Regions from separate parts of the Homo sapiens genome. Here regions 1, 2, 4, 5, 6 and 7 are each linked to region 3. Evidence: promoter capture Hi-C in 16 types of primary human blood cells and fetal thymus (Javierre and others, 2016). All regions are on one chromosome and are shown on one strand. Each heading gives the region's core, a stretch centred on a gene start or on the middle of the fragment in contact. The rest is flanking DNA. Distances are from core to core; before and after follow the strand shown. Region 1 has its middle 17 kb from the start of TMEM64. Region 2 overlaps NECAB1 (N-terminal EF-hand calcium binding protein 1). Region 3 holds the start of DECR1 (2,4-dienoyl-CoA reductase 1). Region 4 overlaps C8orf88 (chromosome 8 open reading frame 88). Region 5 overlaps NECAB1 (N-terminal EF-hand calcium binding protein 1). Region 6 has its middle 520 kb from the start of PARAIL. Region 7 overlaps C8orf88 (chromosome 8 open reading frame 88).

What was found. The method cuts DNA at HindIII sites, captures the fragments that hold promoters and counts their contacts. A CHiCAGO score of 5 or more calls a contact.
Region 1: a contact is called between a fragment that was not itself captured here and the fragment with the promoter of DECR1 in region 3, in 9 of 17 cell types (total B cells, M0 macrophages, monocytes and 6 more). The highest score is 7.2, in total B cells.
Region 2: a contact is called between a fragment that was not itself captured here and the fragment with the promoter of DECR1 in region 3, in 2 of 17 cell types (total B cells and naive B cells). The highest score is 8.1, in total B cells.
Region 4: a contact is called between a fragment that was not itself captured here and the fragment with the promoter of DECR1 in region 3, in 13 of 17 cell types (naive B cells, total B cells, total CD4 T cells and 10 more). The highest score is 13.3, in naive B cells.
Region 5: a contact is called between a fragment that was not itself captured here and the fragment with the promoter of DECR1 in region 3, in 13 of 17 cell types (naive B cells, total B cells, naive CD8 T cells and 10 more). The highest score is 27.2, in naive B cells.
Region 6: a fragment that was not itself captured here is called in contact with the fragment with the promoter of DECR1 in region 3 in 1 of 17 cell types (non-activated CD4 T cells); the score reaches 5.8 in non-activated CD4 T cells.
Region 7: a fragment that was not itself captured here is called in contact with the fragment with the promoter of DECR1 in region 3 in 15 of 17 cell types (naive B cells, fetal thymus, total CD4 T cells and 12 more); the score reaches 21.3 in naive B cells.

Annotation. Positions count from the first base shown.
Region 1 is chr8:90,661,360-90,664,746 of GRCh38, forward strand. No RefSeq gene overlaps it. Among named protein-coding and RNA genes, the nearest start is that of TMEM64, 17 kb to the left of the region's middle. The HindIII fragment of the contact is 3,250 bases long and covers 1-3,048 here.
Region 2 is chr8:90,923,647-90,926,827 of GRCh38, forward strand. NECAB1 (N-terminal EF-hand calcium binding protein 1) reads left to right here. Exons shown (of 13, transcript NM_022351.5): 7 at 1,889-2,010. The region is part of intron 1 of LOC105375634 (a long non-coding RNA gene); the gene reads right to left. Among named protein-coding and RNA genes, the nearest start is that of C8orf88, 60 kb to the right of the region's middle. The HindIII fragment of the contact is 6,117 bases long and covers 1-3,181 here.
Region 3 is chr8:89,999,762-90,003,137 of GRCh38, forward strand. DECR1 (2,4-dienoyl-CoA reductase 1) reads left to right here and starts at 1,716. Exons shown (of 10, transcript NM_001359.2): 1 at 1,716-1,800. The coding sequence starts at 1,732. RefSeq lists enhancers at 1,060-1,354, 2,203-2,342 and a silencer at 1,633-1,732. The HindIII fragment of the contact is 6,361 bases long and covers 1-3,376 here.
Region 4 is chr8:90,958,959-90,962,508 of GRCh38, forward strand. It overlaps C8orf88 (chromosome 8 open reading frame 88), which reads right to left. Exons shown (of 6, transcript NM_001190972.2): 5 at 1,784-1,890; 6 at 1-72. The coding sequence ends at 49. NECAB1 (N-terminal EF-hand calcium binding protein 1) reads left to right here. Exons shown (of 13, transcript NM_022351.5): 13 at 1-435. Among named protein-coding and RNA genes, the nearest start is that of C8orf88, 25 kb to the right of the region's middle. The HindIII fragment of the contact is 3,382 bases long and covers 400-3,550 here.
Region 5 is chr8:90,940,211-90,943,366 of GRCh38, forward strand. NECAB1 (N-terminal EF-hand calcium binding protein 1) reads left to right here. Exons shown (of 13, transcript NM_022351.5): 10 at 576-688. All of the region lies in intron 1 of LOC105375634 (a long non-coding RNA gene), which reads right to left. Among named protein-coding and RNA genes, the nearest start is that of C8orf88, 43 kb to the right of the region's middle. The HindIII fragment of the contact is 7,402 bases long and covers 1-3,156 here.
Region 6 is chr8:89,238,532-89,241,645 of GRCh38, forward strand. No RefSeq gene overlaps it. Among named protein-coding and RNA genes, the nearest start is that of PARAIL, 520 kb to the right of the region's middle. The HindIII fragment of the contact is 4,416 bases long and covers 1-3,114 here.
Region 7 is chr8:90,980,367-90,983,635 of GRCh38, forward strand. It overlaps C8orf88 (chromosome 8 open reading frame 88), which reads right to left. Exons shown (of 6, transcript NM_001190972.2): 2 at 1-95. The coding sequence starts at 69. Among named protein-coding and RNA genes, the nearest start is that of C8orf88, 3.2 kb to the right of the region's middle. The HindIII fragment of the contact is 5,795 bases long and covers 1-3,269 here.

The DNA of each region.
Region 1 (3,387 bases), core at 174-2,673, 660 kb after region 3:
TCAAGTTTTTCTCCTATGTTGGCCTCCCAAAGTGCTGACATTACAGCATTGTGAGCCACCGTGTAGTGTGAGCCACTGCGCCCAGCCAAATGTGATATTTGTTATTCTTCTATGCCCTTTGGAAAAATGGTATTCTAAAAGTTCATAAAATAAAAGGAATTGGCTTGAGTTTGTTAATAAGTATTAATAAATACAGGAAAAATACTGCTTTGCATAACAAAACTAGTTTAATATTTAAAAACAGTTAAATATTTTTCATTTGCACAAAAAAATCTGACCAAACTCCTTTTCAGATTTAATGCACGTGAAGTTAAGATTAATATCTTTGTATTCCTGTTTTTATATTTTTATTGCCTTATAAGTTGATGAAATAACATTCCCTTCTAATGTTAATGAAAATCTTCAATTGAGAATAAGCTGGAAAATCTATTTAATAAAGGGACTTTTTCTAGGGGGGCATTTGTGCATAATTCCTCTTCATATACCCAGTATATAAAATATGCCTTTTAAAAAATATTCTGACAGCCCATAAATACAGTACCTATTTCAAAAACACAATTGTCCTGGAGCCATTCCTCAGGTTAAAAGTCAAAAAGCCAAATAACAAATTGGCTCTGTGATGACACAGAAAGAATGTATTGAGCATTATTCCTTGGGTTGCATTTAGACTTGGGTATGAATAGCCCAAGATTCTTCCCTATATTAGTTTCATATTGGTGCAACAAGCTACAGAGTGACCTAAAAAGTGTCCTTCTTGGTTTTATTACAGGTTAAACTGTAAAGCAATATGCGATCTATTGTCTAAGTTATCTCAATTTTATTTTGGAACTTAAGATCCTCACTAGGTTCTCTCATTTTGAGGGTCATCCTTCTTAATTACTCCCACTGTTTTCTGAGTCCCTTCCCCTCCCCGCTAGTATTTTAGTCTGTTTCATATTATCTTTTATTTTGGCTCCCTTCTAATTTTTTACTAAATACTGAACTTGTATGATATTCCCTTTTATGCTAGGCAGTATTATTTTGACACATAAAATGAGGACTTAGTGTATAAGAAATGTATATTGAAAATATGCATAAAAACACTGGAAGGAAATATACCAATATGTTTCCCTTTGAGTGTTATTACAAGTAATTTTTAAAAATCGGCTTAGTACTTTTTATCCTTTCTAACTTTTTTTGACAGAGAAACAGATAGCACTTTATTTTGCTTTGTTCCAACTGCAAAATTGGACAGAAAATCCCTCTAGGTTTTTGTTTGTTTTGTTTTGTTTTGCTCATGGGTTATCTTGTTAAAATGCCTTCACTGGAACTGTTTTATGTCAAGAAGTTTGTTGTAATGTCACCTTGATCATTTCTGACTGTGCTTAGTTAGATCTTCTGGGTTTTTGTTTTGTTTTGTTTTGTTTTTTTGTTAATCTAGTTAGCAGTCTATTGATCTTCTTTATCTTTTTAAAGAAACAGCTTTTGGTTTCATTGAGCCCTTATATGATTTTTGGTTCTCAATTTCATTCAGTTCTGCTCTGATTTTGGTTACTTCTTTCCTTCTCCTAGCTTTGGGGTTACTTTGTTCTTCTTTTTTAACTTCCTCTGTGTGTGATATTAGATTGTTAATTTGAGAGCTTTCAACTTCTTGAGGTAGGCATTTAGCACTATAAACTTTCCTCTTAACACTGCTTTTGCTTTGTTTCAGAGATTTTGGTATGTTGTGTCTGTTTTTATTTATTTCAAATAACTTTTTGATTTCTGCCTTAATTGTATTGTTTGTCCATAGTCATTCAGAAGCAAGTGATTTAATTTTCATGTAATTGTGAGGTTTTGAGAGATCTTCTTGGTATTGATTTCTATTTTCCATTCTTGTCTGAAAGTATAATTGGTATGATTTTGATTTTTTTGAATTTGCTGAGACTTGCTTTATGGCTGAGCATGTGGCCAGTCTTAGAGTATGTTCTGTGTGCAGATAAGAAGAATGTATATTCTGAGGATGATGAGTGGACTGTTCTGTAGATGTCTATCGGGTCCAACTGGTCAAATGTGAAATTTAAGTCCGCTATTTATTTGTTAGTTTTTTGTCTTGGTGATCTGTCTAACACTGTCAGTGGAGTGTTGAAGTTCTCTACTATTATTGTGTGGCTATTTCTACTTATAGGTCTAGAAGTACTTGTTGTATGAATCTGGGTGCTCCAACATTGGGTGCATACATATTTAGGATAGTTAAGTCTGCATGTTGAATTGAAACTTTTATCATTGTGTAATGTCCTTCTTTGTCCTCTTTTACTGTTGTTGGTTTAATGTTGGTTTAAAGTCTGTTTTGCCTAACATAAGAATAGTCACCTCTGTCTTTAATGCATTCCATTTGCATGATAGATCTTTCTCCAACCCTTTACTTTGAGCATGGGATGTCCTTACGCATGAGATGGGTCTCTTGAAGACGGCAGATAGACGGTTTGTTTTTGTTTTTGTTGTTGTTGTTTGAGACAGGGTCTTGCTCTGTTGCCCAGTGGTGTGATCACTGCAACCTCCGCCTCCTGGGTTCAAGCAATTTTTATGCTTCAGCCACCCTAGAAGCTGGTACTACAGGCACATGCCACCACGCCCAGCTAATTTCTATATTTTTGGTAGAGACAGGGTTTCACCATGTTGGCCAGGCTGGTCTCAAACTCCTGATCTCAAATGATCTGCCCACCTCGGCCTCCAAAAGTCCTGGGATTACAGGCATGAACCATCACCCCAGGCCTAGGTCTTGTTTTTTTAATCCAACCTGCCAGTCTGTGGCTTTTAAGTGGGGTGTTAAGACCATTTACATTCAATGTTAATGTTGATATGTGAAATTTTGATCCTATCATGAAGTTATTAGCTGGTTGCTTTGTAGTTTTTATTGTGTGGTTGCTTTACAGAGTCTGTGGGCTATGTATTTAAGTGTCTTTTTGAGGGAGCAGATATTATTCTTTCATTTCCATGTTTAGCACTCCTCCCTTAAGGAGTTCTTGTAAAGTTAGTCTCTTTGTGCTTACTTGTCTGGAAAATATTTTATTTCTCCTTCGTTTATGAAGCTTAGTTTGATGGGATATGAAATTCTTGATTGAAGTATCATTTCTTTAAGAATGCTGAAAATAGGTCCCCAGTCTCTCCTGGCTTGTATGACTTTTGCTGAGAAGTCTCCTATTAGCACAATGGAGTTCCCTTTGTACATAATCTGACGTTTTTCTCTAGTTGCCTTTAAAATTTTTCCTTTAGCATTAATCATAGACAGACTGGTGATTATATGCCTTGGTGATATTTGTTTTATATAGCATCTTGCAGGTGTTCTCTGGATTTCTTGTATCTGAATGTGTATGTCTTTAGGAAGATGAGGAAATTTCTCTTGAATTATTCCCTCAAATATGTTTT
Region 2 (3,181 bases), core at 524-3,023, 920 kb after region 3:
AGCAGACAAAAAATTTCAAAAGAAAGTTTTCAATACCTTCAAAAACTAAATAAAAGATATTGCATTTATGAATTAAGGATAGAATGCTTTAAAAATAATATTCAAAGCACACAAAAGAGGTCTTGGAAATTATGATTGCAAAAATTACATTCTCTGAGGAAGGTTGAAATATAAAAGTGTGAGGAAATCTCCACAAAGAGGTGAAATATAAGAGATAAGGAAACTAGAGGCTCAGTCCAAGAGGTCTACTGTTTGTAAAACAGCAATTCCAGAAAGAGAACAAAGCAGAAAAATTATCAAAGGAAGAATTTAAGAAAAATAGTCAGAATTGGAATATGTGTCCAGTTTGATAGAACAGATCAAGAGCTCATTATAATGCTAATAAAAGTCCAACACAAAATACATCATTATGAAGTTTCACAATACTGGAAACAAAGACAAGTGTCTAAAAACTCCCAGAGAGAAAAACCAGGCCATATGCAAATAATCAAGAAAACACTAGATTTTTCACTAGTGACTCTGGGATATAGAACACAATGGAGCAAATTTTTCAAAACAATTGGCAATCTAGAAATCTGTATGCCATAAAACCATCAATAAAGTAAGGAAGATGTTTATTCATGCAATGTTTCAAGAATTTTACCTTTCATTATGCACCTTTTCTTATGAAGCAATTAGGGGATATTTTCCACCAAAACAAAGGAGTCAGGTAAGAAAAAAAATGAAATCTAGTAAAAGGGGGATCAGAGGTCATCCAACACAGGAGAAAGGCTAAAGGAATCTTCCCTAGCTGATAGATAATGAAAATTTTTGGATGAGTACATTAATCTTAGATTTGTCTTAAACACAGAAGGATTATATCTTACACACAAGGGATTATATCTCCTATAAAGAAATCTTGTTGGAGGCAGCTTAAGTATTATGTCCTTACAGATTTATCATAGACACTCTTTCTTTTTCACATATTAAGTGCATATTAATATAATAAACTATTGCCAAGTTTGCCTCATAGACCAAGATGTTTGTTGGCGATCCAGCTACCATGTTCACATTCCAACCAGGAAAGAAGATTAAGGAAAGACAAAAGGGATCCCTTCTAGCTGAATCTGTACTTTTAAGCAGCCTTCCTGGAAATTCCTTACAACATTTCCATTTGTATATCATTGGCCTGAGCTTTTCATATTGTGAAGTTAATAGATAAAGCCTAAAACTAAAAATTAAAGACATAGCAATTTAAGCATGTTATATACTGATAATTTAGAAGGTGTTTACTTTCATATCAGTATATAACATATACTGTATATAGTATATAAGATATACTGTATATAATATATATTTTAACATATGCTACTTTCATATCATAACATATACTCATATGAAAGTAAACACCTGCTAAAAAGTGTTGCCTTTTTGAAAGAGGAGTGGGAATATGATATGGGGGTGAAACGAGGGAGCTCCTGTTTGTTGAAATAAGATTTATAGAATCATTTGACTCCTAAAAATATATGGATGTATAGCTTTGATCCAAAAAATTAAAAACTGAATTACAGAAAAAACTCCATAAGTGTTTTCAAATTAAACAAAATACAATAGCTGCATACACGTTTTTCCACTGAAAGTTGACCAACAAAGGAAAAAAGCCTACCTTAAATTACAATTTTTACTCAGAATTTTAAGAATAAAGAAAGCTCAGAATTCTCTTTCTTAGGTTCACATACTGTAGTACCAAATTACATTGGGTTTCTAGAGCATTTACAAGCAGTCATTCTCATAAGTTTTCATTTTGCTGCACTAGAAAACCTTTATGACTGACGCATGAAGATCTCTTCCCTGAAGGAAGAGACTGAAGCACTAACATTAAGGTTAAATGTTATCTCTGTTGATCAAGGCAAGGGCCAGCCAAGCCAGAAGTCCTGTCGATTCAATGGCCTGGAAAACGATCAAGCCGCCGAGTCCAGAGACACAACAGCTTCTCCCCAAACAGCCCTCAGTTTAATGTCAGCGGTCCAGGTAACATACCCTTCATTTGTTTTTATTTGTCAAAGTCTATTTATCTTGCGTTTTCCAATTGATTATTTTAACAAACAACAGATAAGACAATAGTAATGGAACACTTTCCTTATACCAAGTAAGTTTGAGACAGAAGCAGTGAAGAGTGTAGTATGAAGAACTGGGGTGGTGAGCCTAAAATCAGCATGGTCAGAATCCTAGCAGTTGTGCCTGGAAAGCACACAGAGAGATGGTGAATAGGGAAGGCAGTAGCTTCATCAGCTAACATCTAAAAGACTTGACGTCTATAAGGACCCCCCATGATCTTGAAATAAAGGGACTCTACCCTAATATGCTCTAGATCTCCAAGCCTCCCTAAGCCTATCCTAAGTTCATCTGGGGAAAGGATCCTTGTTTTCATAATAGGATTAGTCATAGCTGGTGTTTTTGAAGTTTGTAATGTGATATAAGATTTACTGGGCTAAACCATACCCATAATTGTTAGGTTATTAAATTTTAACTGTGTCACTTATAACCATTTTAAAATCAATTTGAAATATGCAAACTCATGTTGCTAAATATTGGAGTAATTTTTATAAAGCATGCATATATACATGCACATATGTCACTTGAACGTGTCATTTTAACACGAGTCTTTATCTAATATTCAGAAAATCAAGGTATAAGCTATATTCTATATTTTCACCAACTGTACTTGAAAGATTTCAGAGTATTTTTATGAATAAAGCCTTATTTTATCTTGACACCTGATAAAATAGATGTTAATTTCCCTATTTCTCCATTTCACAGGTAAGGAAACAAGCCTGGGAAGTTAAGTGATTTGTCCAAGGTCATATGGAATATTAGTCCATTTTTATTGTGAAGCGACCTTAAAATCTTGATGGTTACACCTGTAGATACTTGTTTTTCTCTCTCATGAGTCTATGGTTGGTGATTTGGGCAATTTCAGTTGGATGTGGTTCCAGGCTGTATGTAGGTTGAGTTTGGCCCCACTCCTCATGTAGCCTCCTTCTGGAATAAGCAACAGCTGGATCATTTTCTTCTCCTAGTGGGTGTCAGAAGCACATGCAGCCAGCCCAAAATTATACATGCATATTAAAAACCATTGTTTTATGTACTGTGTGCATCTTGTCTGGTACCTCTCCATTGGCCAAACAAATCACATGTCAAG
Region 3 (3,376 bases), core at 466-2,965:
ATAGCACCAAAGGAAGAAATCTGTCCCCGTGATCCAATCACCTCCTACCAGGCCCCAATTCCAACACTGGAGATTACAATTCAACATGAGATTTGGGTAGGGACACAAATCCAAACCGTATCACTAATGTTGCAACTTCTTTTTAGAAACAAGATGAATCCCACTTACAATTTGGTTTGGAAGTCAAGAATAACAGTGCCATACATATATCAAGAGCTTAGGAAAAGTTTTATTATTGATATATTCTCAAGGTTTTTTTGGGAGGACAGAAAATGCCTCCTAAGCTGGTCTAAAAGTTATTTAAGAGGGCAAGTGTTCTGGGCTGAATTGTGTACTTCCCTCTTCTCCCAGCCAAATATATACATTGAACTCTTAACCCCCAGTATGTCAGAATGTGGCTATATTTGGAGATAGAGTCTTTAGGGAGGTAATTCCAGTTAAATTAGGTCATTGAGGGTGGGCCTTAATCCAACACGACTGGTGTCCTCATAAGAAGAGGCAATTTAGATATGGAAAGGTACACAGGAGGATCATGTAAAGACACAGGGAGAAGATGGTCCCACAGTGGCTCCACAAGAAACCAACTCTGCTGACTTGTGGCCTCCAGAATTGTGAGAAAACAAATTTCCATTTAAGCCACCCAATCTGTGGTAGTTTTGTTCCTGGACCAAACTGAGGGTCAGGCTGCTATTTCTTGCTGCCAATAATGAGATGTCGATGAACTGGGGATGAAGAAAGTTTTTATTTCTGTAACCAGTTACAGGCAGAAGGCCTGGAAATTATCACCAGACCAACTCAAAATTACAAAGTTTTTCAGAGTTTATATACCTTATAAGCTATATGTCTACATGTAAGTGTACATTCCTCTGAAGATATAAATGTTTCTTTATCAGCATTTGGAACATGCCAGGCAAATAGTAAACACTCAATATCATCTACCATCAGCCTCAGCCTGGGGCCTCACACCCATCTTCTTTTATCTAAAATTCTGAATTAGCTATGAATATTCTCATTTTACGAATGAGGAAAGAAATGTGATCTGAGCTAATGCCTTGTGTCAACAGGTATATTACACTAAGATGGAGAATGATATACTGAATCTGTGTTTGCCTTTAACGTGTGTTTAACTTCGAGAAAAAAGCCAAGGCTGGGCGGTCGCAGTCACGCTGCATCCGGCGACAGGGGGCGGTGTGTCCTGCGAAAAGTCAAAACGCCGGAAGCTGCCCTTAGTGTTTTTCAGCCTCTTGGTCTTAGGGAAAGTGAGGCCGTGTTTTACATCCAACATATTATTATTCTGATAATATGTGACTTGGCGCCACGCGCACTCTGCACTTAAACACGCACTTAAGGGATAAACACATACGACTGAAAAAGAGTTTCGCCCTTGATAGGCAGTGTATGGGGTGCGCAGCTGCAATCTGCAAACCCTTGCAGGGCGCGGGGTTTCGTACACCCGCTCAAGGACGCAAAGAACCTCCATTCTCTGCCATACAAAGCACTCCTGGCCCAGAGAGCAGGAAAGAGCATCAGCTAGGCCCAGCTAGGCGGCGCCCTCGGCCGGACTCTGAAGGTCAGGGCCGCTGGGCGTCCACGCCGCCTGGGTCCCAGTCCCCGTCCCATCCCCCGGCGGCCTAGGCAGCGTTTCCAGCCCCGAGAACTTTGTTCTTTTTGTCCCGCCCCCTGCGCCCAACCGCCTGCGCCGCCTTCCGGCCCGAGTTCTGGAGACTCAACATGAAGCTACCGGCCAGGGTTTTCTTTACTCTGGGGTCCCGGCTGCCCTGTGGCCTCGCTCCTCGGAGGGTAAGGCGGCCGGGGGCGCGGGGAGCGAGGACAGGGCGTCTCGACGCGCAAAGAGAGAGGACAGGGCGTCACGGGGGCTCGGGGAGCGAGGACAAGGCATCCTGGGGCGCAAAGAGAGAGGACAGGGCGTCCCGGGGGTTCGGGGAGCGAGGACAGGGCATCCCGAGGCGCAGAGAGAGAGAGGACAGGGCGTCCCGGGGCCTCGGGGAGCGAGGACAGGGTGTCCCGGGGCTCAAAGAGAGAGGACAGGGCGTTCTGGAGCGCTAAGAGAGCACAGAGCAACCCGGGGAGCGAGAGAGAGGACAGGACGTCTCGGGGCGCAAGAGAAAGGGCAGGAAGTCTTGGGGCACAAAGAGAGGACCCGGCGTCCCTGGGGCTCAGGGAGCTAGGACAGGGCGTTTTGGGGCGCAGAGAGAGAGGACCACCAGGTCCCGGAGCGAAGGGCAACGCCGGGAGTGAGCACCGGGGCCCGGGTCGTATTCCACTGTCAGATGAAGCCCTGATGTGTGTAGGGGAATAGGGAAGAGACGTGATTTTCGAAGTTTTCACAGTTCTGCAAGTTTCCAACTTGTGTGTAAATAGGTAGAAAGAGGTAGGGAAGGATACGGCGCCCGTCCACCCCTTAAGGAGTGAGAGGGGATCAGGCCGAGCGAGCACTGACCTTTGACGTCCTTTGTTGTGAGGAAAGTCCATCTATGTGTTAGTTATGGAATTAAACACTAATACAAACAAATTATCATAAAAATGAAACAAAAACAAAACCCCAGCTGTTTATAGACTCCCCTTCCCAGATGTATAGCTGGGAGAGGTCCGTCTCACACTGGCTTCCCCCTCTCTCTGGCCCACACTCCTGTCACCATCTCCATTGCACCCATAGTGGAAATAGCTAGGAAGTGAAAACAGCTAGGAAGAAGAAAGAGAAACAAAAACAAAAAGAAGCAATAATATCCAAGACAAGCCCTCCCCACATCTAAATTACAAAATTGTTATAAGTAAACTAAAAAGCACATTTTCTTTAGCCAGGTAGAAAAATTAATATGTCAACTGTGAAAAAACTTCTTTTGATTTGATAGAATAGACAGCCATGGTGTTGTTTTTCAAAAAATATGGGCAGCAGTAGTTCCAAATAGGAATACAAAGAATTAGTATGGTGGTTCCCTCAAGTAAGGTATCTTTCTTTTAAAAAGTGAGATTTGTTCAGGGTTAGGGTTTTGCTGATTTTTTTTCTCTCCCTGTGAAAACTGGGTTATAGATCATTATAAAGGAAGCCCATATTTTCTGATACTTTTCAGAGACATTTCTCATTTGAAATCTACAACAGCTCTGTGATGTCTTCAGAGATTTCATTTTTTAACACACATCATTAGGATTGTAGCAATAAGGTCATACAGACCTTATCCAAGCTCTTCTGACACCATTAGACAATACAGTTTGAGAAGGAGAAAATGAACTCATTTAAAAATTAATTGTAATCTGACAATTTTGAAATTCCTTTGCTGAAGAAAAATATGGAAGTTTTGAGGTTCAGGGTTGGGAGGCAAGAGAGGTACCTGTTAGTGTGGTTTGTCCCCTTCCT
Region 4 (3,550 bases), core at 841-3,340, 960 kb after region 3:
CACCTCATTTGCAGATGTCCAAACTTAAATTCATCTGTTCTTAAAATGCTACTTAAAACTTTGGTTGTTTTCCTGTAATATAAAAGAAAAAGTTAATTTATCAATTGATTGAATACAGTTTTTACTAATTAGTTTATCAAACCAAATACTGTGAACGTACCAGGTGTTTACAGATTTAAATGCATGTTACCATAGAAACTATTAAAGTAACTAGAACTGTCAAATAACAAAACGGCTCATGTTTTTAAAATATATGTAACTCATTTTAAAATATATTAAATTGTATTCCAAACCTGTTCTTCTGTTTCTGTGGCACCTAGGTTTAAAATATGTATTAATGTGTAAATCACAAGTAAAATGAATTCTAATGTACAAGTTTGTTTTAAAAAGTGTATGTCAAGCTTTTATTTACACAATAAAATGTTATTAAAGATGGAAAGTCTACAAATGAAAAAGTGACTATAGTTTATATAGCACTGAAGTTTACATTTATTCTTACAGACCATGGATTACATATCCCAAAGATCTTTGAACCGGTGGGAAAGTTGAAACATCAAGTACATTTTTTCTTATTTAATATTTATGCATGAGAAGTATTATAAAAAATTTTAATTCCTGCTTTAATTAACTTTAAAAAGAATTGGCTAGAGATCTAAAGTTAGGGAGTTTAAGAAATATTAATATAAACTATGAACAACATAATGTTTTTTAAAAATTATAATTTGAGGAAAAAAATACTATGAATTCCAAAGAATTAGAATACCAAAAATGGAGATAGAAGGTAGTAGTGTTTATCTCCCATTCGAACTGTTCTCAGTATACCTATATTCTGAATCTCATTTCAGAAGAGTCCTAGCTGCCTTTACCTATATAAAGGTATTTACGAAAACTCTAATAGGAAGTTAAATTCCAGTCAAATGTAAGTAGAGACCACAAAGAATGGGAATCATTTACTAAAAGCATAATGAGAGAAAGGTATCATACTCAGTAATCTCATGCATTATTTTATTAATCCTAACAGCCAGAGATTATCATCCTTATCAGCAATTGCAAAACTTATCATCCTTATCAGCAATTCAATGAGGTTAAGTGACTTGTCCAAGTTCGAACTACCGGTACACAGAATGGAGCTACAATTTGAAGCCATGTCTGATGACAAAATCCATGTCCTTTCCAATGAATATCCTAAGAGATGCATGTATGTATTTATTATGTGTATTTATTTAGATGGAATTTGATAAGGTAACACAGAAATATAAAGGGCTAAGAATAGCAAAGACATGTTAAAGAAAAATACATGAGATGATTTGTTATAATGTATAAAAAGACTAATTGAACAGAATGGATAGCCCATTAACAGACCATGCATACATTGCCACAAAGATGTCAGAGAAGTACCCTTTCAATAAATATTTTTAAAATGACTGGATATCTATGTAGAAAAAGGTAAAACTTGATGCCCACCTCACATCATAGAGTAAAATTAATTCCAGGTGGACAATATAATTTAATTGAAAAAATAAAACTTTTAGAGTATGGGATAATATTTTCATGACCTTTCCATTAAAAATATTTCTTAAACAAAATACAGCTATTCCATTCTATTTTTTGAACAGAGTTACTTTATAATAATTGGTTATATCTTTAGATTTTTGTAGTTTTCTGAATTACTTATATCTTATAATAAGGAAGGTTAAAAATCTAGAGGTAGAGTCTGATGAAAATGTTAAAGAAAAATATTTTGTAATATAATATTACAATACAAACTTAGAAAACTACTTACTGGTTTTTGCAGTACAATGGGATGATCAGGCAGAAAGTCTGGTTTTTTTCTGCAGATGGAAACACTTGAGAGCTTCAACAGGAAATCTCTGCTGTATTTAATTCTCTCTGTAGATATTAAACATCAAATATAATGTTAGGAAATGTAGGGCTGTCTAGATCACTTTTTGGTTCATTTCTTTCTGGATGTCCTCTATTCATTATATAAAATGATGAGTCGTGTGTCTATGCAAAAGAGAAGGAGAAAAAAGGCTTTGACAAGCATCTACTGCCTCCAATTCTCCTTTTACATAGAAAGAAAACCAAGTAACCAAGGAAACAATGAAAGAAATATAATTAAGAAAATGGGAAATGCATGGCTTTTTTCATCTGGTTATTCAGGTCTAGTAAAATGATCTTGTGTAAAATATAACCACAGTAATAACTATTGGGCAATTCAGATCTGCCAAAATGTTACTTTAATGAGTCTATCAAGTCTCAATCAATACTAAAAACTTAACACAATAAAAATAAATTCAAGAAACATTTATTGTACATCTTACTATGTATCAGGAACTGTGCTAGGTAATAATGAATAGGACCCAAGATAGGGCCCCTATCTTCAAGGAGAACAATGTTTCAAATATCTGCAGATTTCAAATCAGAAATGATTACCAGAAACAATCACCAAGACAGATTATATGCTGTCCCAGAAGACAATGGAATAATATTTTTAATGTGCTAAAAGAAAAGAACGGTAACCCAGAATTTCATGTCCAGTGGGGGGGAAAAAACCCTCAGAAATACATGTGAAGGAAAGACATTTTCAGATAAAGTAAAACTGAAAGAATCCATCACTAGCAGATGTGACCTTCAAGAAATGCTAAAGGAATTTCTACAGGCTGAAGGGAATTATACTAGATGGAAACTTTACTGTTCAGAAATGAAGAGCAAAAGAGATGGTAAATAGGTGGGTAAGTATAACAGATTCCTTTTTTTCTCTAAGTTTTATTTTAAGAAATATGTATTACTGTTAAAAGCAAAAGCCACCACAGATAATATATAGATGAAGGGTGTGGCTATGTTTCAATACATTTTTATTTATAAAAACAGGAATTGGTCTGTAAACCATAATTTACTGACCCCCTAAACATTACATTAAAGACTACAAATTGACAGAGTGGATTTAAAAAATAAGAAGACCCTATTATATGCTGTCTGCAAGAGACACATATTAAATATAAAGGCATATAAGTTGAAAGTAAATGGATATAAAAAGATACACATGAAAAGACTAGGAATAAGAAGGGTTGAATTACTATCCTTACATCCTATCAACTAACAGGTAACAATTATTAATGTGTTGTTCCTAATACACAGTTCTGAAATACATCGAGGAAAAATTAACTTACCAAAAATTTTGGGTCTGGCTTCTTTCATTTAACATTTTTGAGGTTCATCCTTAATCTGGAACATTCTACGTAGCCAAACCATCAATCAAGTGTGAGAACAGAATAAAGATATTTTCAAATATGCAAACTCAAAGAATTCACCAACCCAATACCCTTTTTTCACGAAACTCCTGGAGAATGTACTTGAGCAAAATGAGGACATAAATCAATAAAGAAGAAAACATAAAATTCAAGAAATGGAGGTAAGTGAAGTCAGGGAAAATAGCCAAGTAGAGAACTCTAAAAGTCTTTCACTCCACAAAAACAACAAGTAAGCTCATAAAAACTGTCAGAATCAACTTTCTCAGAACCCTGGACTCTAACCCAAAGCCTGTAAA
Region 5 (3,156 bases), core at 649-3,148, 940 kb after region 3:
TAAGTAGTTAATGTGTTTGACAACCCTGTAATATTTGATATACCTTTGGAAATGCATGAGTTACTAATTTTTTTGAAATCTAGTTGTTTGTAATGATTGTCACTTATGTCTAATATCACAAAATATTCAAGAAATTGGAGCTGTGCAATGAACAATAGGACTTCTCTTTAAAAATTGGTAAGTTGTTATAGGGAAGTGATCCCAGCTCTGCCTGCACAATACAGACACTTAGGGAGGTTTTAAAAATAGCAGTGCCTGGGCCCCACTCCCAGAGATTTTGATATAAAGATAATTTTAAAACTTCTCGAGTCATTGAGAATCACTGCTTTTAAAGGGAAACACGTCATTGTAAAGAACACGTTGTTTAGCTTCTGGGACTAGAGGCAAGGAAAATATCTTGCCTAGATTACAGCCTTTATACAGTTTTATACTTGGAATAGTCATGGCCTTCCTTGGTCATATTTTTGGATGACAATCATCTGTTTTTGTGAGGAGGAATGGGATGGGCAGTAGGAGTCAGCTTAAATCGGGCTCCGTGACAGCCAACGCAGTGACCCTCGCCCCTTCCTTGGCAGCACATCATGCTTGTGCAGCGGCAGATGTCTGTGATAGAAGAGGACCTGGAAGAATTCCAGCTCGCTCTGAAACACTACGTGGAGAGTGCTTCCTCCCAAAGTGGATGCTTGCGGTAAGTGCTCCGACTCCTGCACCTTAGGCCTTTGGCAGCCTGGGAATACAGTGAAGGCATTTCTTACTTTAGACAAGGCTGGGGGTCTAGAAGACAGATATTTGAGAATCCTCACATTAAATTATACAGAGCATTCCACCTGGGTGATGTCATTTGCTGCCTTTAACTGAATGTTTTCTCTTTAATCTTTAAACCCCGTGTCGTCTAATCTTTAAACCCCGTGTCGTCTGATCATTGGGGCACCAAGTAAAATGAAATAGAACAACTTGAATGAAGAGACTGAATTTCAAATAAGTTGAAATTCCCTTTTGCATCCAGGCAGCCCACACTCTGATTTAAAATCATCTCTGGTAGATGAGGCGCCAACTCTAGGACATCTAGCTGTGATTGCTCCCTTGGCAGTACGCCCTGTGGCCTAATGACCATTTCAGCCATTAGGAAATTGCAGGCATCCCTGAAGTCATGATTTCAGGCCTTGGTCATTAAAAGAAAATGAAGCAGCAGCAGATCTTTTCTTTCCTCTTTCCATGGGTACCACCCAGCTCAGGCTTCGGATATCTCAAGCTACTAAAATATACTATTCCTCATCTTCAATTTTTTCACTCCAACTGGTTCAATAAATAGTTACTATAATAATTTTCTGGAAACAGTTATCATAGAATTCCCTTAACTGGGAACCTAAAGTAACTCTCTAATGAGTATCTTATCAAAGGCTAGACATTTGTCCTGACTCTATATTTAATCCTACTGACAGACCCAGGAATCCATATCACTACTATTATTTGTTCTCCCTCATCTAAACACTCTGCCTCGGTGATGCACAGATAGAATTTCTGATATAATCTGTTTGTTCCCCACTGTGCCTCAGACCTGGCTATTCTTCCTCTCAGAAATGTGCACCCAGCTGCAAGTCTCTGCCAGCCCATGCACTGCCTCAAGTTCAGAGCCCAGGTCCAAATTCATCTGCTTTTAGAAAACTTCCACAACCAAGTCTAACCCTACCTTATGAGCTTGCTTAAACTATATTTCATAATGCTCTTCAAATGTTGCTTTGGGAAGGTTTTTAGAAAATGTGTGTGTGTTTGTGTATGTGTGTGTACATGTGTGCATAAACAGATACTTCATGTCTCTGGGTGTTTTGCTTTTCCTCTCAGTGTTCAATTAATTATATTTTATTCATACCCCAGCAGAATATTTCTCTAGCTAAGAAGTCTGGCTCTGGAAATAAACATGGAATTTTACTAGCTTTGTGGTTTTGAGAAAGACCCTCACTGGCTCTAAGCCTTAGTTTCCTCCTCAAGAGGCTCATGAGATGGTTGGGAGGATTCAGTGAGACAGTCCATATGCAGTGCTCAGCACAATGCTTCCCATCCACTGAAGACGTGAGCTGAAGTCACTATTGCGTTTACTACTGTTTCCTGGTTGTCTGGGTGGCTGACCTCCTCTCTAGAGTATGAGTACAGTACTTCCTCAGTGCCACTAACAGCTCATCATCTTCCAGTAGTGCCTTTGAAACAAGAACACAGGAAATGCTGTGTTTCCATGATTATTTTTATTATTCTATTTCACGCCAGACTCAGAGGGCACAAATCAAAACCCCATTTTAGTCCTTTTTACTTCAGTGACTCAAGACTTGCAAAGGTGGGAATATGTGTAGTTTTTAAGAGCCCACTCATTTGAAAATAAAATTGAATATTTAAAAATTCAGGGTGCAGTGGCTCACGCCTATAATCCCAGCACTTTGGGAGGCCGAGGCAGGCAGATCACGAAGTCAGGAGTTCGAGACCAGACTGACCAACGTGATGAGACCCCGTCTCTACTAAAAATACAAAAATTAGCTGGGCATGGTAGCATGTGCCTGTAATCCCAGCTACTCAGGAGGCTGAGGCAGGAGAATCGCTTGAACCCCGGAGGCGGAGGTTGCAGTGAGCCGAGATCGCGCTACTGCACCCCAGCCTGGATGACAGAACGAGACTCTGTTTCAAAAAAAAAGAAAAATGCAAACAGTACCTATATATACACCGTTCACAGTGTAAACTTCCCAAAATAGAGCTCAGTAAACTCTTTTTAATGAGGATACAGAGAAGATAAAGTCTATTTCAGTGTATTACAATCTCCAGGGATTGAGTGCATGTTTTATATTTATAAAAAAGGCGCACAAGTTTATTTTTTAGGTTCAGAAACACTACTTTAATGGGTGTTGGGAAAATGACCTCGAGCTACTAGAACAGCCCCAGGGAAAGGGAAACAGGCTGTGGGGGAGTGAGAGAGTGGATAGATTTGTGCCGCCTGCTGCAAATTCCATTCTCTCAATAACCACAATAAATTGCTCCATCAGCTCCTGCTGTGAAGTAGAGGAAAGGAGAGCATCTTTTTCCTGTAAGATAGATTTTCAGCCTCTCTGTTTACTTTGCAAGATTGGTTTGTTTCATACAATTCTTCGTTCACTTCTTATTGCTGATTTTTCA
Region 6 (3,114 bases), core at 549-3,048, 760 kb before region 3:
AATTCTTCCCTCCCCTCCTTTTTTTTCCCAAAGATGATAACCATTCTTTTCAAAAGCAAACTTCCTTCATGTCTGTGGACTAGACTGTCTAAGGCCACAAGATTAGAAGTTAGGATAATACATGTTACAGTGTTAACTTTTAGCAAACTTTACTTTTGTTGAAAACCTTGTAAGTTTGGGATTTCAATTATTCTTTGCTATTAAGACCTCATTCAGTCCATATTAACTTAGAACTGGTATAGATTCTTTCTTGCTTCTGTAAGTACTTTAAGGTTCGGCTGAGTGCAACAGCTCACACATTTGAGCAGACCAATTATTAGGCAATCTTCCTAACTCTGCTTCTACAAGAGTTTCCTTATCACTTACTGAATATCCATTGTGTCTTTTTTCCCTCAATCACTTGGGAGGAACCATCTATCATTCTGTCCTGAGAGATCCTTCTAGGTCTGGTTGGACCTTTATATGGTAATTAATTAAGATTTAGATTCCCAGTTAGGAAGCCCGCTGGGTTAAGGGAATTATCAGTGGTTAATGTTAAATCATCTTTTTCTAACAGAATAGCCCCATACTTTAAGATTTTTGAGTGAGTAAGCTACCTTTTCCCTTTTTTTTTTTTTGACTTAGGATAGTTCTGAACTGGTGCAGTGTGCTCACAATGAGGTTTCCTCTAAAAGTTATTTTTCTACTTTCTTCTGTTAGCAAAGCAGTTGTCGCTACAGATTGAATGTACTTGGGCCATCCACGGGTTACTGGGTTAAGGATTTTTGATTAGGAAGGCTATGGGTTATCAGTGGCCTCAGTGCTCTCAGGTTATGCCCTTGTTCACACTGACAACAAGGTGGTATTGGAGTGTTATAGGGTCATGGAGAAGACCTTCAATTATCAATTATAGGTTTTAAATTTACCCTGGCTTTTAAAGGAATAGAGTACACTGTTTGTTTTCCCTAATACTTCTATCTCTGTCTTTCTCTCTTTCTTTCTCCTTTGACTTTCTGTCTCTCTCTTTCTCTCTCTCTGACTCCCTCTTTGTCTCTCTGTCTCTTCTTCTCTCTTTCTGCCTCTCTCTCTCTTTGACTCCCTCTTTGTCTCTCTGTCTCTTTCTGTCTCTCTCTTTCTCTCTCTCTCTTTCCTCTCTCTCTGCCAGCCACATGTGCTGCTGTTCTCCCCTCTCCTTCCCCTTCCCCTTCCCCTAGGGGAGGGACCAGTGGGAGTGGAGCTATCCTTTCCTCCCCTGAGAAGAAAGGAAAGAGGGGGTTTGTGTGAGGTTCGACCTTTGAAATTAGTGGAAGGCTCAACCCCTCACACCAGGGATGTCTTGCCTTGTCTGTCCCAGAAGGCTCAAACTCTCACACCAGGGGGTGTCTTGCCTTGCTGCCCTGGAAGGCTGACCTGTTTCTTCCTTTTCCCCCTCTGAAGGTCCCTTGCACACTTCCCACTCATGTCGTCCTCTCTGGCTGCTCCCTCAAGGGAGAATTAGGCCCCTCTTAGTGTTGGTGTGCCAGTATAAATCCCATGGCAGGATCCACCCTAAGCCATATGAGGTAGCTATGGAACCGCAGAGAGGACCCACTCACTCTGTCCAGCAGTAGGACTTGTCACCATCCACAAGAACAACACCGCAAGCAGGGTTGTTTGTGGTCACTCATGCACACACACATTTAGCCCTCTAGAATTTGACCACCAGGGAAGTACTTTACTGGTTCCTGCCCCTTCTCCTTCCTTGGTCGGTCCACAGAGTCGTTGCCGCAGAATGTGAAGATCCTTTAAGCTAGGTTGCTGGCCAGTTTTTTTTTTATTTTTTATTTTTTTCTGCATTGCTGAGAGCTGGGGTTATTCCTCCCACTGTGTGGGTCTTGATTTGACTATAGAAGGAAGTGAAGGAAGATAAGGAGGACCCAGATGAAGAAGGAACCATTAAAGAAATTTGAGCAAGGAAATGAGGTTTGCACCTTAGTTTGATAGCATGTGGAAGGGCAGGCTTAGAGAGACAAGCCTGGAGCCAGGAAGAACAGCAAAGAAGCACCTGCTCAGGGGAAAGAGTTATGGATACTTGAACTAGGGGCAGCAGTGTTGATGGAAAGGAACAAAGAAACTGGAAATTTAAGAATTTAGAATTGGTAAGGCTTGTATCTGATTAGATGGTGTGGAGCCAGGGAGTGTAAAAAAGCTAAAACAAACTGCTGGGTTTTTGGTTTGAAAATTTGGTAAGTGATAGTAGAATTCACCGAGCTATTCCAAGTAGACCTTTCACTATCTCACTTTGTTGGCTAGTCCCACTCAGCAGTCCTAAGCAGATGTAGTTGCTTCTCACTCAACATATTTTACTTATAAATATATACATATACTTCTTATAAGGTCCTGGTGCCCCTTGAAGGCATCGAGATATTGCACAGGAATACATTAATAGAATACAGCTAACAGATCTATTTTGGAGCAAAAACCAATGAAGTTCAGTCACTATATCTACCTTATAATTTCACTTTGCATATAGTGCCCTTCTTGAACATTAGACTTAACTGTCATGGGACATTTGAATCAACTATATCAAAAATTGAGGGTAATATATATTTATTAAGGACTTATATAAACAGCTAGGATTACAGAGGACAATTAGCCTTATGAGGACATGCCTAAGAGTAAGACAAACAAGGTTCCCCTCTGTATTAAATAACTTCCAGGGCCCTACAATGCCTTATTATATTATATAAATGTAATTTACACTTTTAAGATCACAGTAACCTGAAAGTCAAAATAGGGTCAAAACTGAAACTAATATTTCTCCAGTTGAATGCTTCCCTGAACTAGAAGAATCTCAGCTTCACTCAAATTCCTCCCAAATAGTTTTGAGAGTCTCCAGATGTCTCACATCTACTTTACATACAAGTTCCCTCAGATCTCCTTCTCTCATGATCCCATTTCAGCTCTCTGTGGTGAATCTGATACCCCACTACTGATGCCAGGATCTACAATGGTTAAGGTTCCACTGCCTGACAAACATGTTAGTGATACTGGTGCTTGCTGTTGTCTGCATTGAGGCTTCTGATATCTGTTACTGAGGATATTGAGGTTTACCCACAGAGAACTCTTGCCTGGTGCTGCTGAAGCTCTTCGTAT
Region 7 (3,269 bases), core at 1-2,500, 980 kb after region 3:
GGGAGAAGTCAGATGACGAACAGGTCTTGCTGGTTGAAGCGGTTTACCAATTAATTTTTTGGTTTCCATTGTCACAAAGACTTTGAGGTTCCATACTAGAAGACAAAAAAATACATTTTTATCTTTTGGACAAAATAATCAAGATGCTTTACATGTATACAAATAACTACATCTTTTTTTAAGATGCCTATTTTACAAGTTAAAGTGGAAAACACAAACACAAAAAAGCATTTAATATGCAATACTCAGACTCCTTTTATAGCATTTGTCACAGTTAAACATTCCCTCTTTGAAACATTTTCTTTAACTTTACTGACTCTATATTTCTGTTTTTCTTTTCTTTTGAGGCAGAGTCTCACTCTGTCACCCAGGCTGGACTGCAGTGGCACAATCATAGCTCACTTCAACTTAAAGCTCCTGGGCTCAAGAGATCCTCCTGCCTTAGCCTTCCAAATAGCTGGGATTACAGGCATGAACCACCATGCCCAGCTAATATATTTTTTTTAAAGATGGGGTCTCACTATGTTGCCCCAGCTATGTTCTTTTGGTTTGTTTCCTATTTCTTCGATTGTCTCTTCTAACTTCCTTAGCTGATTCCTCTTCTTCTGTCTTTCTTCCGAATTTGGCTTTGGTCTTCTTAGCTAAAACTCATCTATGCTCACGGCTGCAACCTCCTATCTACATGATAAATATGCCCTAATTTATACTTCCAGAATCTACTTCTCTTTTAAACTCCAGTTCTATTTTTCTAATTGTCTAATAATATTTCAATTTATATATTATCACAGGTACCTCAAATTCAACATATCTAAAATCTAATTAATAACTTTAACTCCTGTATTCCTTTAAAGTCATCACCAACTCCCTTGGACCACACTTGGTAAAACTGCCTTCAATTTGATGGGCTAAATTAGAGCCTCTGATTCCAAAATCAGTCTTTAATTTCTGTTCACGCTACTTCCAAAATATTAATGTTATTTTGTTTCACCATATATTTGGACATTCAAGTGTTTTGTCTATAGTTCCCTTACTATCTCTGCTGCTCTTCTTCCAAACAGCTATTTATCTGTCAAGACCAAGATCAAGCTCTTGCCACTTCCTTGGAAAATATCCCCCTGTCTCAACAGGTAAGGTTAAATAAAATAGTCTACATGAAGTTCTCTAATAATAAAATAATAATAACAATAATAATAATTCCTCCTTCCTTACATTCCTCCTTCACTGGTCCCTACTGTATTTTATCACTTTTTCTAAAATATATCACAGTAAATATATTACATGTCTACTTATTGGACTATCAGTTAGTTGAGGCCACAAAAACCAGACCTTATTTATTTTTGTATTCTAGTATCTGCAACATAGATTTATTAAATAAACTCTATAAACGCTAAGTACCTCGTCATTGCAACTAAAATCTGACACCTGTATGGGACACAAGATTTCCAAATTTTGATGCCCATCAAGACAAAGTCAAAAATAAAACTCCACTTGATTTTGCACCTGCTTATCCAGAAATAATTGTAACCATATGATATTAAGCAAATCATAAGTCTAAGTGCCTATTTCACCAAGTATAAGATAGAGTTAGTAACCCTTTAAGTTCCCAGAAATGCTTTATCCTATTTTTTAAATATCTTTGGACATGTATAATTCAAATGTTAAAATTATAAACTTATAAACAACCTCTCAAAATTAGGAATGATAAGTAAGCACCCAAAAGTTACTATTTGGAGATAACCCAGCAAGTACTTCAAGTTAATACCAACCCAGCTTTGTAATGTGTCTGTTAGCTAGTATTTCAACGTGGCAAAACTAATGCTCTCTGTACTTTTTGTGCAATACAATTGGATATAACAAGATGAAAAAAAAGTTATAAGCACAAATAGAAAAAATACTTCAAATAAAGTTATTAATATTTTCTATGTAGAAGAGTATATTTAAAATAAGGACCAAAAAGCAACCTAATATACATTGCTTTATTTGATGTTTATCCTAGCTATTTTAGTTAAGACCCTAATACTAGTATGTAGTAACTTTCCATCCTGTTCCCCATATGAAACTAGTGAATCAGAATACAATAGGATAGAGTACTTTGGCACACACTTCGTTGTTTTTCATTGCTCAGCTGAAATTTAGTTGTAGGTTGTTAAGTCTTTTCCAATCGCTGAGCAAGGCAAATCCACAGTATTCAAACTAGGGATTTTCAAGAGTTGGGGATTACAGAACTCCATTATATGACTTTGCAACACAAGTAAATAAACAAAAAATCAAAGCTCTTTTGGTGCCACCTACCCTTCAATTTACAGTAGGAAAGATACAGCAATGGCTCCCTGTATATAAATCCACATCAGTTAAGGAAATTAGAAAAGATGGTGTCATTCAGTACTCTGTTTAATATTTTTTTTTAAAGTAAACGATGCCTGCAGGGAAACACTGACATTATAGGGGACAAGTTTGGGATTACAATGCATAGTACATTCCACCATCATGTTATTAATGAAAAAGGTTAAGTATTTATAAAAAGTAATTATTATTGTAAAACTGAGTCACGAGATTATAATTAAGGCAGAACTCCATAAACCAAAACCTAATTCTCAGTTTAGTTAAAAATAATAAAGACTTAACTGCACTACAAAGTCATTATACAAAACAAATTCAGTCTTAAACTCTAATGCCTGCTTCATCCATGGAATGTAGAGATCAAAAAGTTTCCCTTGAAGCTACTGGTGCTACCTAGAGTAGCCATGTATCATATCAACGATTCAAAGCACAGTTACAAAATAAACAGAATTCTGCCTACAACATTGGGTAGCAAGTAGTGGGCCTATCATAAGGTTGTAAAATGTAAATTTAAAAATGTAAATGTATAGTTTTGTGGTATAAATGTTTTTTAAAGGATATTTTGATCCAATGTCTCCAAAAAAACTTTCTATTAATACATACTGAGAAATGGTTGCTGAATAGTTTTTTTCAAGATCACACACACTTAACAAATCATCTTTAAAGACCAAGTTGTATGAATAGAATATTGGTAAATCAGTTAGTTATTTACAGTTGCTATTCTACACCTGGCAATACTAACTATATCTTAGGTTCCTTTTCTTTTTAAAAAATTTACCTAAGTATGAATCTTCAGGCCTTATCAGTCCTGATATTACCAGTAAACCTAGAATTGTCTAAAATACAATGGGATAATAAGCAGATACATTGACCACTTTGGCCAAAATCTTATTAATCTTATTTTTTAATTAAGATGCCTTTTTAAGGTC